Linked DNA regions of Homo sapiens: region 2 is linked to region 1. The links are contacts of gene promoters, found by promoter capture Hi-C in blood cells and fetal thymus (Javierre and others, 2016). All regions are on one chromosome and are shown on one strand. Each heading gives the region's core, a stretch centred on a gene start or on the middle of the fragment in contact. The rest is flanking DNA. Distances are from core to core; before and after follow the strand shown.

Region 1 (6,647 bases), core at 1,083-3,582:
GTGCAATCTCGGCTCACTGCAACCTCCACCTCCCGGGTTCAGGCGATTCTCCCGCCTCAGCCTCCCCAGTAGCTGGGATTACAGGCGTGAGCTACTACACCCAGCTAATTTTTGTATTTTTAGTAGAGATGGGGTTTCACCACGTTGGCCAGGCTGGTCTCGAACTCCTGACCTCAGGTGATTGGCCTGCCTCGGCCTCCCAAAGTGCTGGGATTACAGGCGTAAACTGCCGCACCCAGCCACTAGTCTTTATTTTTTTTAAAAAGTGATACAAAACACAAAAGACTATTACAAAGAAATGTCCAATTTCAGTACAATATACTTTGGTTAAATAATTTATCATAATAGAGCTAAAAGCTAAGAAGCAAACCACTATGTCACTTTAACCTAGTATATCAAATATGTGCCCAAGTCTTTTAAAAGTAAGACTTCCCTGGCCGGGCGCGGTGGCTCACACCTGTAATCCCAGCACTTTTGGAGGCCGAGGAGGGTGGATCATGAGGTCAGGAGATCGAGACCAGCCTGGCCAATATGGTTAAACCCCGTCTCTACTGAAAATACAAAAATTAGCCAGGCATGGTGGCGGTCGCCTGTAGTCCCAGCTACTCAGGCGGCTGAGACAGGAGAATAGCTTAGCTTGTACCTGGGAGGCGGAGGTTGCAGTGAGCCGAAATCGTTCCACTGCACTCCAGCCTGGGTGACAGAGCGAGACTCCGTCTCAAAAAAAAAAAAAACAAAAAAGACTTTCCCTATGATAGTTTTTCAATATTCTAATTTTAAGCCCTTTTATTCATATCTAATTGAAAATGTACTTGCCAAGTAAATTTGAGTTCCTTCCAATTACATGTATTTGTTAGTTGCCAATTAAATTTGTCTCCTACTTTTCACTTCCAAAATCCTCAATGAATTGTCTTCTTATGATCTTGGACAATTAACCTCTCTGAATCCTGTTTTTCTCATCAGCAAAATAAGAGACTTGGACTAGAAAATCACAAGGTCCCATCTAACTCTAAAATTCTGTAAGTCAATTAAAAATAGCTGGACTCTGGCCGGGCGCAGTGGCTCATGCCTGTGATCCCAGCACTTTGGGAGGCCGAGGCGGGCGGATCACCTGAGGTCAGGAGTTCGAGACCAGCCTGGCCAACATGGTGAAACCCCGTCTCTACTAAAGATACAAAAATTAGCCGGGCATAGTAGCTCGCCCCTGTAATCCCAGCTACTCGGGAGGCTGAAGCAGGAGAATCGCTTGAACCAGGGAGGCGGAGGTTGCAGTGAGCCGAGATTGCGCCACTGCACTCCAGCCTGGGCGACAAAGCAAGACTCCGTCTCAGAAAAAAAAAAAATAGCTGGACTTCTGAAATGATGTTCATTCACTACCAGAGGAGAAAGAGAAGGAAAACTCAACATGCATTTATATTTAAATCTAAAACCTTTTTAAACCAAGTTAATTTGGCTAGTTATCCATGGCTTTGGACGGTAGAGGTTGAGGGAGTTCAAGTGAAAACGAGAATTCCACATCCCCACTTCAGTGATTGATGTAGATTTACTATGACCTTCCTCAGGCAGTACCTTTACCACCAAATCGGGAAACACTACCTACCGTAGAAAGAAAGCCCAGTGAGATAGGGCTGGTCCTGCTGGAAAACTGAACTCTTTGTAATCAAAACCCAAGGCATTATCTTTACCAAGCTCTTTTCCCCTTTAACCCCTTTAACTTCCAAGGCTGAATTACGGTGACGTAGTCAATTGGGTTCAAAGTCTAGGACACTCCATATCTGGCAAGGAATGAAACAGTAAGTCCAAGGGCCCAGAGGCGATGATGGACTTGGGTGGAGGTGGGTGGCCCAGGAGGTGGGGGTGGGTGCTGGGCGAGATGCTCGAACCACCGTTTTCCACATCTTTCCACCTAATCCAGGGGAGCTGGAGGAGGCCGGGCCCCCGGCCCCGGCAGAGCGAAGTGGGTGAGAGGGTGGCAAGCTCAGCACTCAACGCTCCCCGCGCCGGACCGGGCCTCAGCCTCCAGCACACCTCGCTGGCCCCGGGGCACCGAGAGGGCAGAGCCGGGACCACCCCAGGATCCCAGCCCCCAGCCCGCCGCCGCCAGCCCGCCCCCGCTCCCCGCTGCGCACCTGCGGTCCCCCAGGAGCGGAGACGAGGCGGCCCTTTCCTCACTGTCCCCCTGCAGGACCCGTCGCAGCCTCCGCTTTGCAAAATCTGTCCTCTCCGCCCAGCAGGAGCAGTCCGTGGCACCGCAATCAGGGGTGGCGCCACCCCGCCCCGGGCCTCAGCGAAGACCTCCGCCCGGCCAACATGGCTGGCGCCGCCTCTGCCACGTCAAGAGGAGGGGACGGGGCGTGAGGGCAGGAAGGGGGCAGGAAGGGGCGGGCGCAGAGTTACCAGGGCAGGCCACCGGACCCCTGAGCTTGCTTAATAACCGGAGGATTTGAGAAAGGCGCGCGGCGGGCGAAGGTACCGAGAGGGGAGGAGGGAGGAGAGGTAGCGGGGACCGAGCCAGAGGGGCGGAAGAACCCGGAAGACCCAGGCAGCCGGACGGCCGAGGGGCGTGGGACCGGGCAGAGCGGGACCGGGAGAGAGCGCCTTTCCCAGCTCCCTAAAGCCACAGCGTATCCCACTCCCTGCAGGTCGCAGAAAGAGTGGAGAACTGGTGCCACTCGGACACCTTAGCTCACCGAGAGAAATGGAGACGGCCTCCAGGACATCTTAGGACCCTGGTTGATTCCGAGAATCACAAATCACATCTCTGAAAAAAGTGAAAAGTTCATTCTTTCACTTAGTGCAACAAATGTTTACTGAAACTTACTATGTGCCAGACACAATTGAGATGCTGGTAATATGATGCAGGCAAAGTAGGCCCAGATCCCTGGCCCGAAAGAATTCACGTACTATTTATGTATTTTAGTCAGCCTGTCTTTTCCTCCTACATTGCCTCTGCCACTTCAACTCTGTCTCCCCCCACCCCCAAAACACACACACAGTACAATATTTGGCTGATTCATCTTGATATGTTCAATGTTTTTCTTTCCAAGAAAAAAGTTGAACAAAATGAGAAAGCAACAGATTGGTAAGACATTAGAGCTTGGTGGTCTCAGACAACCCCTTCCTTCAGTGAGGGGAATGAAATTAAGTGCCCATGGAATTAATTGCATATATGACAACGCCTAAAAGCCTGCAAAGTTTAGCCATATCAACATTTTATGGAATGGAAAAAAAGATCAAGTCCCTGTCCTTGAAAGCTCATATTCATGAGAAATAAGACAGCAGCACCAGGCTGGGCGCGGTGGCTCACGCCTGTAATCCCAACACTTTGGGAGGCGGAGGCAGGCGGATCACAAGGTAAGGAGTTCGAGACCAGCCTGGCCAACATAGTGAAACACCGTCTCTACTAAAAATACAAAAATTAGCCGGGTGTGGTGGCACGCTCCTGTAGTCCCAGCTACTCGGGAGGATGAGGCAGAAGAATTGCTTGAACCCGGGAGGCGGAGGTTGCAGTGAGCCGAGACCACGCCATTGCACTCCAGCCTGGGTGACAGAGTGAGACTGTCTCAAAAAAAAAAGCACCAAACATATTTCCCTTTCTATAATGTGTGTACTAAAGTTGTTTTGGAAGGTGGAAGAGGATGTTTGCTTGTCAAATTGTAATACAATCCTGAAGAGGGCAATGGGAATCGAAAGCCAAAAATTAGTGTAGGCTTCCAAATAAAGTAGGTTCAAGGTGCTACCTTAATGAAGATTCTTAACAGCACACAGCAGAGGTGTTGTTATAAAGGTGGAATAAGTACACCCACCAAAAGCGACAAGATCTAAGAATGAGTAGGATAAAAAGATCTTAGTCCATTTAGGCTGCTAACACAAATGCCCTCAACTGGGTAGCTCATAAACAACAGAAATTTATTTCTGACTGTCCTGGAGGCTGAGAAGTCCAGGATCAAGATGCCAGCAGATTTGGTGTCCGGTGAGGACCTGCTTTCTGATTCATAGATGGTGCCTTCTTTGTTCTCACATGGCAGAAGGGGCTGGCTAGCTCTCTGGGGTCTCTTTTACAAGGGTACTAATCCCATTCATGAGAGGCCAGCCCTCATGACCTGTTCACCTCCCAAAGGCCCTACCTCCCTATACCATCACCTTAGCAGTTAAGATTTCAACCTATGAGTTTGGTAGGACACAAATATTCAGACCATAGCAACATTGATGAGAAGATCCACAGAAATCCTGGAATCCAGCGAGGAATAAATCAAAGCATAGTACCTTTGGTAGATTCATTCATTTCATGGTTCCCAGAAAGGCATCTTTACCATCCAGCTCAATGAAGTCTTTTCAAAAACTCATCATTCCTGGCCAGGCACAGTGGCTCACGCCGGTAATCCCAGCACTTTGGGAGGCCGAGGTGGGCAGATCACGAGGTCAGGAGATCAAGACCATCCTGGCTAACATGGTGAAACCCTGTCTCTACTAAAAATACAAAAAATTAGCCAGACATAGTTGCGGGCGCCTGTAGAGCCAGCTACTCGGGAGGCTGAGGCAGGAGAAATGCGTGAACCCAGGAGGTGGAGCCTGCAGTGAGCAGAGATCGCCCCACTGCACTCCAGCCTGGGCGACAGACCGAGATTCCATCTCAAAAAAAAAACAAAAAAAAATTCATCATTCCTTTGTTTTCAGTTGATCAAAGGTTTTAATTCCCTATTACAATGAAATAGATGTTAGGATGCATAACAAACTCAGTTGCATCTGTCTTTATGTGCTTTAAGATGAATGACTTTAAGTCCAGGCGCAGCGGTTCACACCTGTAATCCCAGCACTTTGGGAGGCTGAGGCAGGTGGATCACAAGGTTAGGAGTTCAAGACCAGCCTGGCCAAGATGTTGACACCCCATTTCTACTAAAAATACAAAAATTAGCCAGGCGCAGTGGCAGGCGCCTGTAATCCCAGCTACTCAGGAGGCTGAGGCAGGAGAATCACTTGAATCCAGGAGGCAAAGGTTGCAGTGAGCCGAGATCACGCCACTGCACTCCAGCCTGGGCAACCGAGCGAGACTCCGTTTCAAAAAAAAAAAAAATGATGAATGGCTTTAATCCTTGGATATACTATCAGGATCAGGATCTACTGGACCCAACTTTAGCCTTTCAGGGTTGTTTTTTTGTTTTTGGGCTCTACTCTTAAGGATTGATATTTCATGATTTTTTGTTCCTTCGTAGAAGTCTTCCAAACAACAAAGAGAAAATTTATTTTCTAAAAAAATAGATGTGGTGACTCACACCTGTAATCCTAGCAGTTTGGGAAGCTGAAGGGGGAGGATCCCTTGAGCCCAGGAGTTCAAGACCACCCTGGAAAATATGGTGAAACCCCATCTGTACCAAAAATATAGAAAAATTAGCAGAGCGTGGTAGTGTGTGACTTTAATCCCAGCTACTCAGGAGGCTGAGGTGGGAGAGTAACCTCAACCCAGGGAGGTCAAGGCAGCAGTGAGCCGTGATGGTGCCATTACATGACTGTGCCACTGCCTGGGCGATAGAGTGAGATTCTGTCTCAAAAATAAAATACATAAAATTAAAAAATAGAATAAAACTCATTCTATTTACAATTCCCATATAGATCCATTGGACCCTTATACATCTAGGACACATAGTGGGATTTACTAATTTTTTTTTTTGTATGTTGAAACGTTCTGCTACTTCATCATCCATAGAATTATTTCATCCTTACTGATCAATTATTCCAAGCTATGCTTTAAAAAAGATGAAAGTCAGGCTGGCGCAGTGGCTCACGCCTATAATTCCAGGGATGTCACCGTGTTGGCCAGGCTAGTCTTGAATTCCTGGCCTCAAGTGATCCGACCACCTCAGCCTCCCAAAGTGCTGGGATTACAAGCGTGAGCCACCGCACCTGGCCCTTTTTTTCTTTTTTTTTTTTTAGACGGAGTCTTGCTCTGTCCCCCAGGCTGGAGTGCAGTGGCACGATCTCGGCTCGCTGCAAGCTCCGCCTCCCGGGTTCACGCCATTCTCCTGCCTCAGCCTCCCGAGTAGCTGGGACTACAGGCGCCCGCCACCACGCTTGGCTAATTTTTTTGTATTTTTAGTACAGGCGGGGTTTCACCGAGTTAGCCAGGATGGTCTCCATCTCCTGACCTCGTGATCCGCCCTCCTCGGCCTCCCAAAGTGCTGGGATTGCAGGCGTGGGCTTTTTTTGCTTTTTTAAATAGGGATGGGGTCTTGCTATGCTGCCTAGGTTGGAATTGAACTCCTGGACTCAAGGGATCCTCCCACCTTGGCCTTTCAAAGTGTTGGGATTATAGGTATGAACTACCACACCTATAATTTTTTCCAGTATGCTGGTTACGAGGTTTCAACCTGAGGAAGAGTAGAAAGGGAATGGAATTTTTTTTAACTCCTGTGAAAGGAAGGTCAGAACATCTAAGAGATTGTAAAAAATATAAAATCTCATATAAGCTCCCTTCAAAAGAAAGTCTTTTAAAAGCAAATACTCCTAAGTTCACTATTTCCTCAAACTGGCATTTCTTAAAATGCCAGAGACTAAAAAGAGAGGGAAAGATTATGTGGTCGAATAAAGACATGTATAGCCAAGAACATTTCTTAAAGATATTTGACCTTGCAACTTTTTTCCCAGGGATT
Region 2 (6,647 bases), core at 2,994-5,493, 5.8 Mb after region 1:
ATCTTCTGCTGGGAGAAAATAACAACAAGAAATAGTTTCATTTTCAGATCTAGTTCCTACATAATTCTTCTAAATTCTGTTTGAAAATTGAATATTTAGTGTAGATTTGTCTAGCCAGATGTTATGATACCTAGTTCAAAAACAAACAAAAAACAGTTGATACTTTCAAAGTTCTTCCTGGTACTCTAAGCCAGATACAGCAGTTCATTAAATACATTTTCTATTTGCTATGTTATCACATTTGCTAAACCATCTACCATGACATGACAAGGGGCTCCTTTCCTCTCGCTTCCAATAACATTTTCCTTACTTTCCTTGAAGCCCTCATTGACATCCTCCTCAATACCTGTCAGGATTCTACTAACAGTCTCCTCAAAGCTCTTTCAAGTTCTTCCTTACATCTTGTCCGAAAGGCAATGCTCATGTTTTAGGTTTTTATTACAATGGCACCCCAAATTCTGTTCTACTTATCTAATGATGTATAAATGGGCTTCAAAAAATAGTTGCTTAGAACAATAATGATTTTATTATATCTCATGATTAAGAGAATGAGAGATTTGGGCAGGTTTCAGCTGGGTGATCTTTTTTTTTTAATTATACTTTAAGTTTTAGGGTACATGTGCACAATGTGCAGGTTAGTTACATATGTATACATGTGCCATGTTGGTGTGCTGCACCCATTAACTCGTCATTTAGCATTAGGTATATCTCCTAATGCTATCCCTCCCCCCTCCCCCCACCCCACAACAGGCCCCAGAGTGTGATGTTCCCCTTCCTGTGTCCATGTGTTCTCATTCTTCAATTCCCACCTGTGAGTGAGAACATGCGGTGTTTGGTTTTTTGTCCTTGTGATAGTTTACTGAGAATGATGATTTCCAATTTCATCCATGTCCCTACAAAGGACATGAACTCATCATTTTTTATGGCTGCATAGTATTCCATGGTGTATATGTGCCACATTTTCTTAATCCAGTCTATCATTGTTGGACATTTGGGTTGGTTCCAAGTCTTTGCTATTGTGAATAGTGCCACAGTAAACATACGTGTGCATGTGTCTTTATAGCAGCATGATTTATAGTCCTTTGGGTATATACCCAGTAATGGGATGGCTGGGTCAAATGGTATTTCTAGTTCTAGATCCCTGAGGAATCGCCACACTGACTTCCACAATGGTTGAACTAGTTTACAGTCCCACCAACAGTGTAAAAGTGTTCCTATTTCTCCACATCCTCTCCAGCACCTGTTGTTTCCTGACTTTTTAATGATTGCCATTCTGACTGGTGTGAGATGGTGTCTCATTGTGGTTTTGATTTGCATTTTACTCCTTTTAGTATCAAGGGAGGTCATCAGCAGTATTTATCTGCTGAATGGGAAGTCTGGAGGATCTGGAGACCTTCACTCATATATCTGGCATTGTGGCAGGAATGACTAGAAGGCTGGGCTCAGCTTGCTCAGCTGACCAGAATATAGCCTCTCCAGGATAGGGGTCTTCTCACATCATGGTTCAGGGCTCTAAGAGCAAGTATTCAAGTGAATAAGGCAGAAATTGCATGTTCTTTTATGACCTAGCCTCAGAAGCCACGGAGTTTCATTTTTGCTGTACTCTGTAGGTCAAAGGCTACTAGTCTACCCAGATTCAAGAAGAAGGAACAAAGACCCAATGTCTCAATGGAAACAATGTAAAAGAGTGTGCAGCCATTTTTTAAAACCATCCTAGCAGACTGCACTACAGAAAACGTTAAACCAAGTTTTTTCAAAGTGAAGTGAAGTGATAGCAGAGGGAAACTTAGATATATGCAAAGGAATAAAGAGCACCAGAAATACTAAACATGTCGGCAAATAAAAAGAACACTTTTAGTGAACTAAAGTCTGATTTTTCCCTTATTTGCTTACTTTACTTTCTGTGATCTGAGGGAGAAAAAGGACCCAGCCCATGTGGCTTCACATTGGGAAAAAGTGGCACCCACTGTTTCCTAAGATTTAGAGCTAGAAGGGGCTGGAAAGAGCTGATCCTGTCCCTGAATTTTTAGAACCAAATTCCTGTATCACAGTTGAAATGATTGTCAAAAGTAAGAACATAATGTTTGTTCACTGGGGGAAAAGTCTGTTGGGGATACCCAAAGGAATACGGGAATTTGAAGATGTGAATTCTATTTTTGGAAAGCTTAATGCAACAGAGTCTGATATAATGGCAAGTGACAGCTGCTTCTGGGGCTAAGTCCCCACGACTACCCCTTTCTTCTGGAAAATATATCTAGACTAAAGTTTATGACTAAATTTAGGGCCTATGTGTTCTGATTTTTCCCCAGATAATAAGGCTATGAGATCGACTGAATTGAATTGAGTTACAGAAATTAGATTTTCATGCCCTTCCTCATTGTTATTGTTGTTTATACAGCTTACATATTTTCTAGAGCAGGAACCTTCTTAACTTCAAGATCCTCAGGGACTCAAAGTTCATGATGGGAGCTCAGCAAATGTACTAGGATAGACAGATAAATGGTATTTGTGTACATCAAACTTGATCTAACGACCACTTTACCAAGAACATGAGACCCAACAGAAAAATAAGACTTTAAACCAATTTTTTAAAGGATAAGTTTCAAAAAAATGAAATAAAATGGGGTATATTTTAAATTTTAAGACTGGTAACAAAGATAGTATGAATTATTTTTTCATTTGGCCTGGCGCAGTGGCTCATCCCTGTAGTCCCAACACTTTGGGAGGACGAGTTGGGTAGATCGCTTGAGTCCAGGAGTTCAACACCAGCCTGGGCAATGGAGTGAATCCCCTTCTCTACAAAAAATATACAAAAAAAATTAGCCGGGCATGGTAGCATACACCTGTAGTCCCAGCTACTTGGAAGGCTGAGGTGGGAGGAGCCCTTGAGCCTGGGAGGATGAGGCTGCAGTGTGGTAGGCAACAGAGTGAGACTCTGTTTCAAAAAATAAATTAATAATAATAATAAACACTTTAAAATTATTTCTTAAATTCCCATATAGCAGTAAAAATGTACAGCAAGCACAGCACAAATGACAGGAGTAAAATAGATGTAACTTTATGCAACTGCAGAATCACTTGTTTTGTCAACCAGCATGGAAACTGTCAGAACTGTCAATCAACAAAGCAAGGGCGATAGAAAATGTGTCACTTTCAAACGGTATACAATAATAGAAATAATGACAACACATCATTATATCAGAGGGAGGAGAAAAGTGATATCAGGATATTTCTTTCTCAAGGCCTCTCATTGAGGGGTAATTATGGGCTGGTTGTGTCTGTCACATAGCCTCTCCAAACAGGCTCTGTAACTTTAAGTTCAGATATCAATGTCTTCCTCTCATCTTTTCAGATATTTTTACATCCCAGGATAATTACTGGATTATCTGTTGTGGTGGAGTCTGGACCTTTTTAAACATCTACCAACAAAGTTTATAGATTTAAAGCAAAAATTCAGCTTTTGGAAAAATGAGATTAAAAATAGTTTACTAGTAATGTAACTGAGCATTATAATTTGAATTCTAAAGAGGACTTATTGAGACTAGTAGAAGGCCGGGAGCAGTGGCTCACACCTGTAATCCCAGCACTTTGGGAGGCTGAGGCGGGTGAATCACCTGAGGTCAGGAATTCAAGACCAGCCTGGCCAACACAGTGAAACCCCGTCTCTACTTAAAATACAAAAATTAGCTGGGCACAGTGGCAGGTGCCTGTAATCCCAGCTACTCGGGAGGCTGAGGCAGGAGAATGGCGTGAACCTGGGAGGCGGAGCTTGCAGTGAGCCGAGATAGCGCCACTGCAGTCCGGCCTGGGCGAAAGAGCGAGAGTCTGTCTCAAAAAAAAAACAAAACAAAACAAAAAAAAACCCCAAAAATGTCCTATTTAAATTAACAATATTGGTCTCCAGTCTTTGCAACCAAAGAACACTTACTGATATCTCCACTGCTAGCATACTGTGTGACATATGGTTGATGATTGATAATAAATAAATAAAGTGTTTATAAAATGGTATTGGGCAACTAATTTTTTTGTTTTTGTTTTTTTGTTTAGATGGAGACTCGCTCTGTCGCCCAGGCTGGAGTGCAGTGGTGTGATCTCGGCTCACTGCAAGCTCCGCCCCCCTGGTTCACGCCATTCTCCTGCCTCAGCCTCCCAAGTAGCTGGGACTACAGGTACCCGCCACCATGCCCGGCTAATTTTTTATATTTTTAGTAGAGACGGGGTTTCACCATGTTAGCCAGGATGGTCTCGATCTCCTGATCTTGTGATCCGCCCGCCTCGGCCTCCCAAACTGCTGGGATTACAGGCGTGAGCTACTGCGCCCAAGCTGCGCAACTAATTTTTGACAAAAGCACAAAAGCAACCCAGTGGAAAAAGTACAGGCTTTTCAAAAAAAAAATTGCTGCGATGACTGGGTATCCATACATCAAATATGAACTTGGATACATGCCTCAAACTATATAAGAAAGTTAACTACAATGCATCATACATCTAAATGTACAGCTTGAACACATAAAACTTTTATAAGAAAACATAGGAAAATTTCTTTGTGAGCTTGGGGTAGGCAAAAATTTCTTAGAAACAACACTAGAAATGTAATCCATAAAATAATAAATAAATTAAACTTTATTAAAAGTTAAAACTTCTCTTCAAAATACACTGCTAAGAGAATGAGGGCCAGGTGTGGTGGCTCACGCCTGTAATCCCAGCACTTTGGGAGGCCGAGGTGGGCAGATCACCTGAGGCCAGGAGTTTGAGACCAGCCTGGCCAACATGGTGAAACTCTGCCTCTACTAAAAATACAAAAATTAGCTAGGCATGGTGGTGCACGTCTATAATCCCAGCTACTCGGAAAGCTGAGATACCAGAAACTCTTGATCCTGGGAGGCGGAAGTTGCAATAAGCCGAGATCATTCACTGCACTCCAGCCTGGGTAACAGATCAGGATTCTGAAAAAAAAAAAAAAAAAAAAAAAAAAAAAAGGCAGAGTTGGGGGGCGGTAGGTAAGCAGAAACTTAAGTGTGATGGGCATACTCATTTGATCACAGTGATGGTTTAAGGGGTTATACATATGTCAAAACTGATAAAAATTATACACTTTAAGTATGCTCTATATATTCTATGCCAATTATACTTCAGTAAATATATCTAAAAAAACCCTACAACTCAGATGTCAGATTTTGAAGACGGTGGAAAAGATGCAGAATGGAAATTTCAGTTAAAGGCCTCAGTGATGTTTGTGAGTTATCCAAGTATTCAAGGAATCCATGCTTCCTCCATCTAGCTGAGACTCGGCAGAGTTTAATGAGCAATCTCAATACTATTCTCCAGAAATGGTGTCATCCACCATACTATGGCTGTTTTCAGGAAGAGAATGACCTAATCAGTATAAAATGAACTCCATGTCTTGTGAGAGATTTATAATTAAACACATAATCCACATTTACAAACATTTTTAAAGGGCTTTTCTACCTGTAGGAGAGGATTAATATTGAGAGTGAACTTTTTGCAAGTTTTCCAACACACTAGTTTATCTCTAAGAGCCTCAGTTTCCTCATCTATAAAATACCATAAGAAATAAGAAAAAACAGGAAACTAAAAAGAGCAGGCTTTGCCAGAGCTATTAATTATTCTTTTTTGGGCAGAGCCAAAACTCAAGAAATGGAAGTCTCTCTTCCATTTCTAGACTTTTTTAGAGAGATCCATGAGGAAGTTCCCCTCCATAGCTTTGGCCGACCATCACACCGGTCAAGAAGGCATCCAGCCTCTCCCAGGCTCAGCCTGTGACGGAAAACCACACTGATTTACTAGGATAGCCTTGAGCTCTCTCATTAGCCCTCACGTGTTCTGAACGTTAGAGCTAACTTTCCAGACCCTCATTATTTGTTGAAAGGCTGGATGGGGAAAATCTCAACCAGATCTCCATGCCTACTTGCAAGGAGAGGTAGTTTTTGCAGGGTGGCCTGTGTTCTCCAGATGCAGAGCCATACAGGGCCTTGCTTCTTTACGGGAGATACAAAAACTCGGCCCTAATAAACAGAAATAGTGGTTGAGCCCACAAACTAGCATTAAGTTGTCCTAACTGTAATTTCCAGCTCCGTCACTTGCTGTGTGGGACCTTATTATCTCCAAAACCCAATTTTTTCAACTTCACAATGGAATTAAAACAATCTAATTTTTCAAAATGGGGTTAACTTCCACTGTAAGTTACAGTATATTGGCCAATAATTAACTTGAACACTAAAGCTGGCATTTAACAGATCAATTCAACTGTTTTCTAAGTAAATACTTAAACGCTTAAAAAACCGTAATTTACTGAGAAAACAAAGCTTTCTTTCTAGGTTAAGAATTTGAGAAAACAAGACCCAGAAGCAAACTAAAATCAAGTCCTAAAATGGTACAAACCTCAAAAAGCCAATCAGGTTTGCCAATAAAGCTCCGCCTCCGTGCAAACTCTGCCCACTTCCGGCTTCCCCACCCACCTTCTACCAGTGGAACCCCGCCCCTCTCTGCGAGGTCCCGCCCCCCACACCTGATCCTGGTTCCCATTGGGCGAATCTGGATGCTGTATACACAGCCGACACACGCACATTAGGCTGGGGCGTCTTCGCGCCTGCGCAGCTGCGCTGTCAGGCGGCTGAAAACGGGGG

What was found. Contacts are between HindIII fragments. The CHiCAGO score rates a contact against its expected background, and 5 or more counts as called.
Region 2: a fragment that was not itself captured here is called in contact with the fragment with the promoter of SEC23A in region 1 in 10 of 17 cell types (total CD8 T cells, total B cells, naive CD8 T cells and 7 more); the score reaches 20.9 in total CD8 T cells.

Annotation. Positions count from the first base shown.
Region 1 is chr14:39,100,903-39,107,549 of GRCh38, forward strand. SEC23A (SEC23 homolog A, COPII component) reads right to left here and starts at 2,333. Exons shown (of 20, transcript NM_006364.4): 1 at 2,130-2,333. SEC23A-AS1 (SEC23A antisense RNA 1) reads left to right here and starts at 2,238. Exons shown (of 2, transcript NR_146545.1): 1 at 2,238-2,469; 2 at 2,643-2,910. RefSeq lists silencers at 1,939-2,018, 2,039-2,158, 2,319-2,548. The HindIII fragment of the contact is 19,881 bases long and covers 1-6,647 here.
Region 2 is chr14:44,890,610-44,897,256 of GRCh38, forward strand. No RefSeq gene overlaps it. Among named protein-coding and RNA genes, the nearest start is that of DORIP1, 3.3 kb to the right of the region's middle. RefSeq lists an enhancer at 6,311-6,360. The HindIII fragment of the contact is 4,162 bases long and covers 2,163-6,324 here.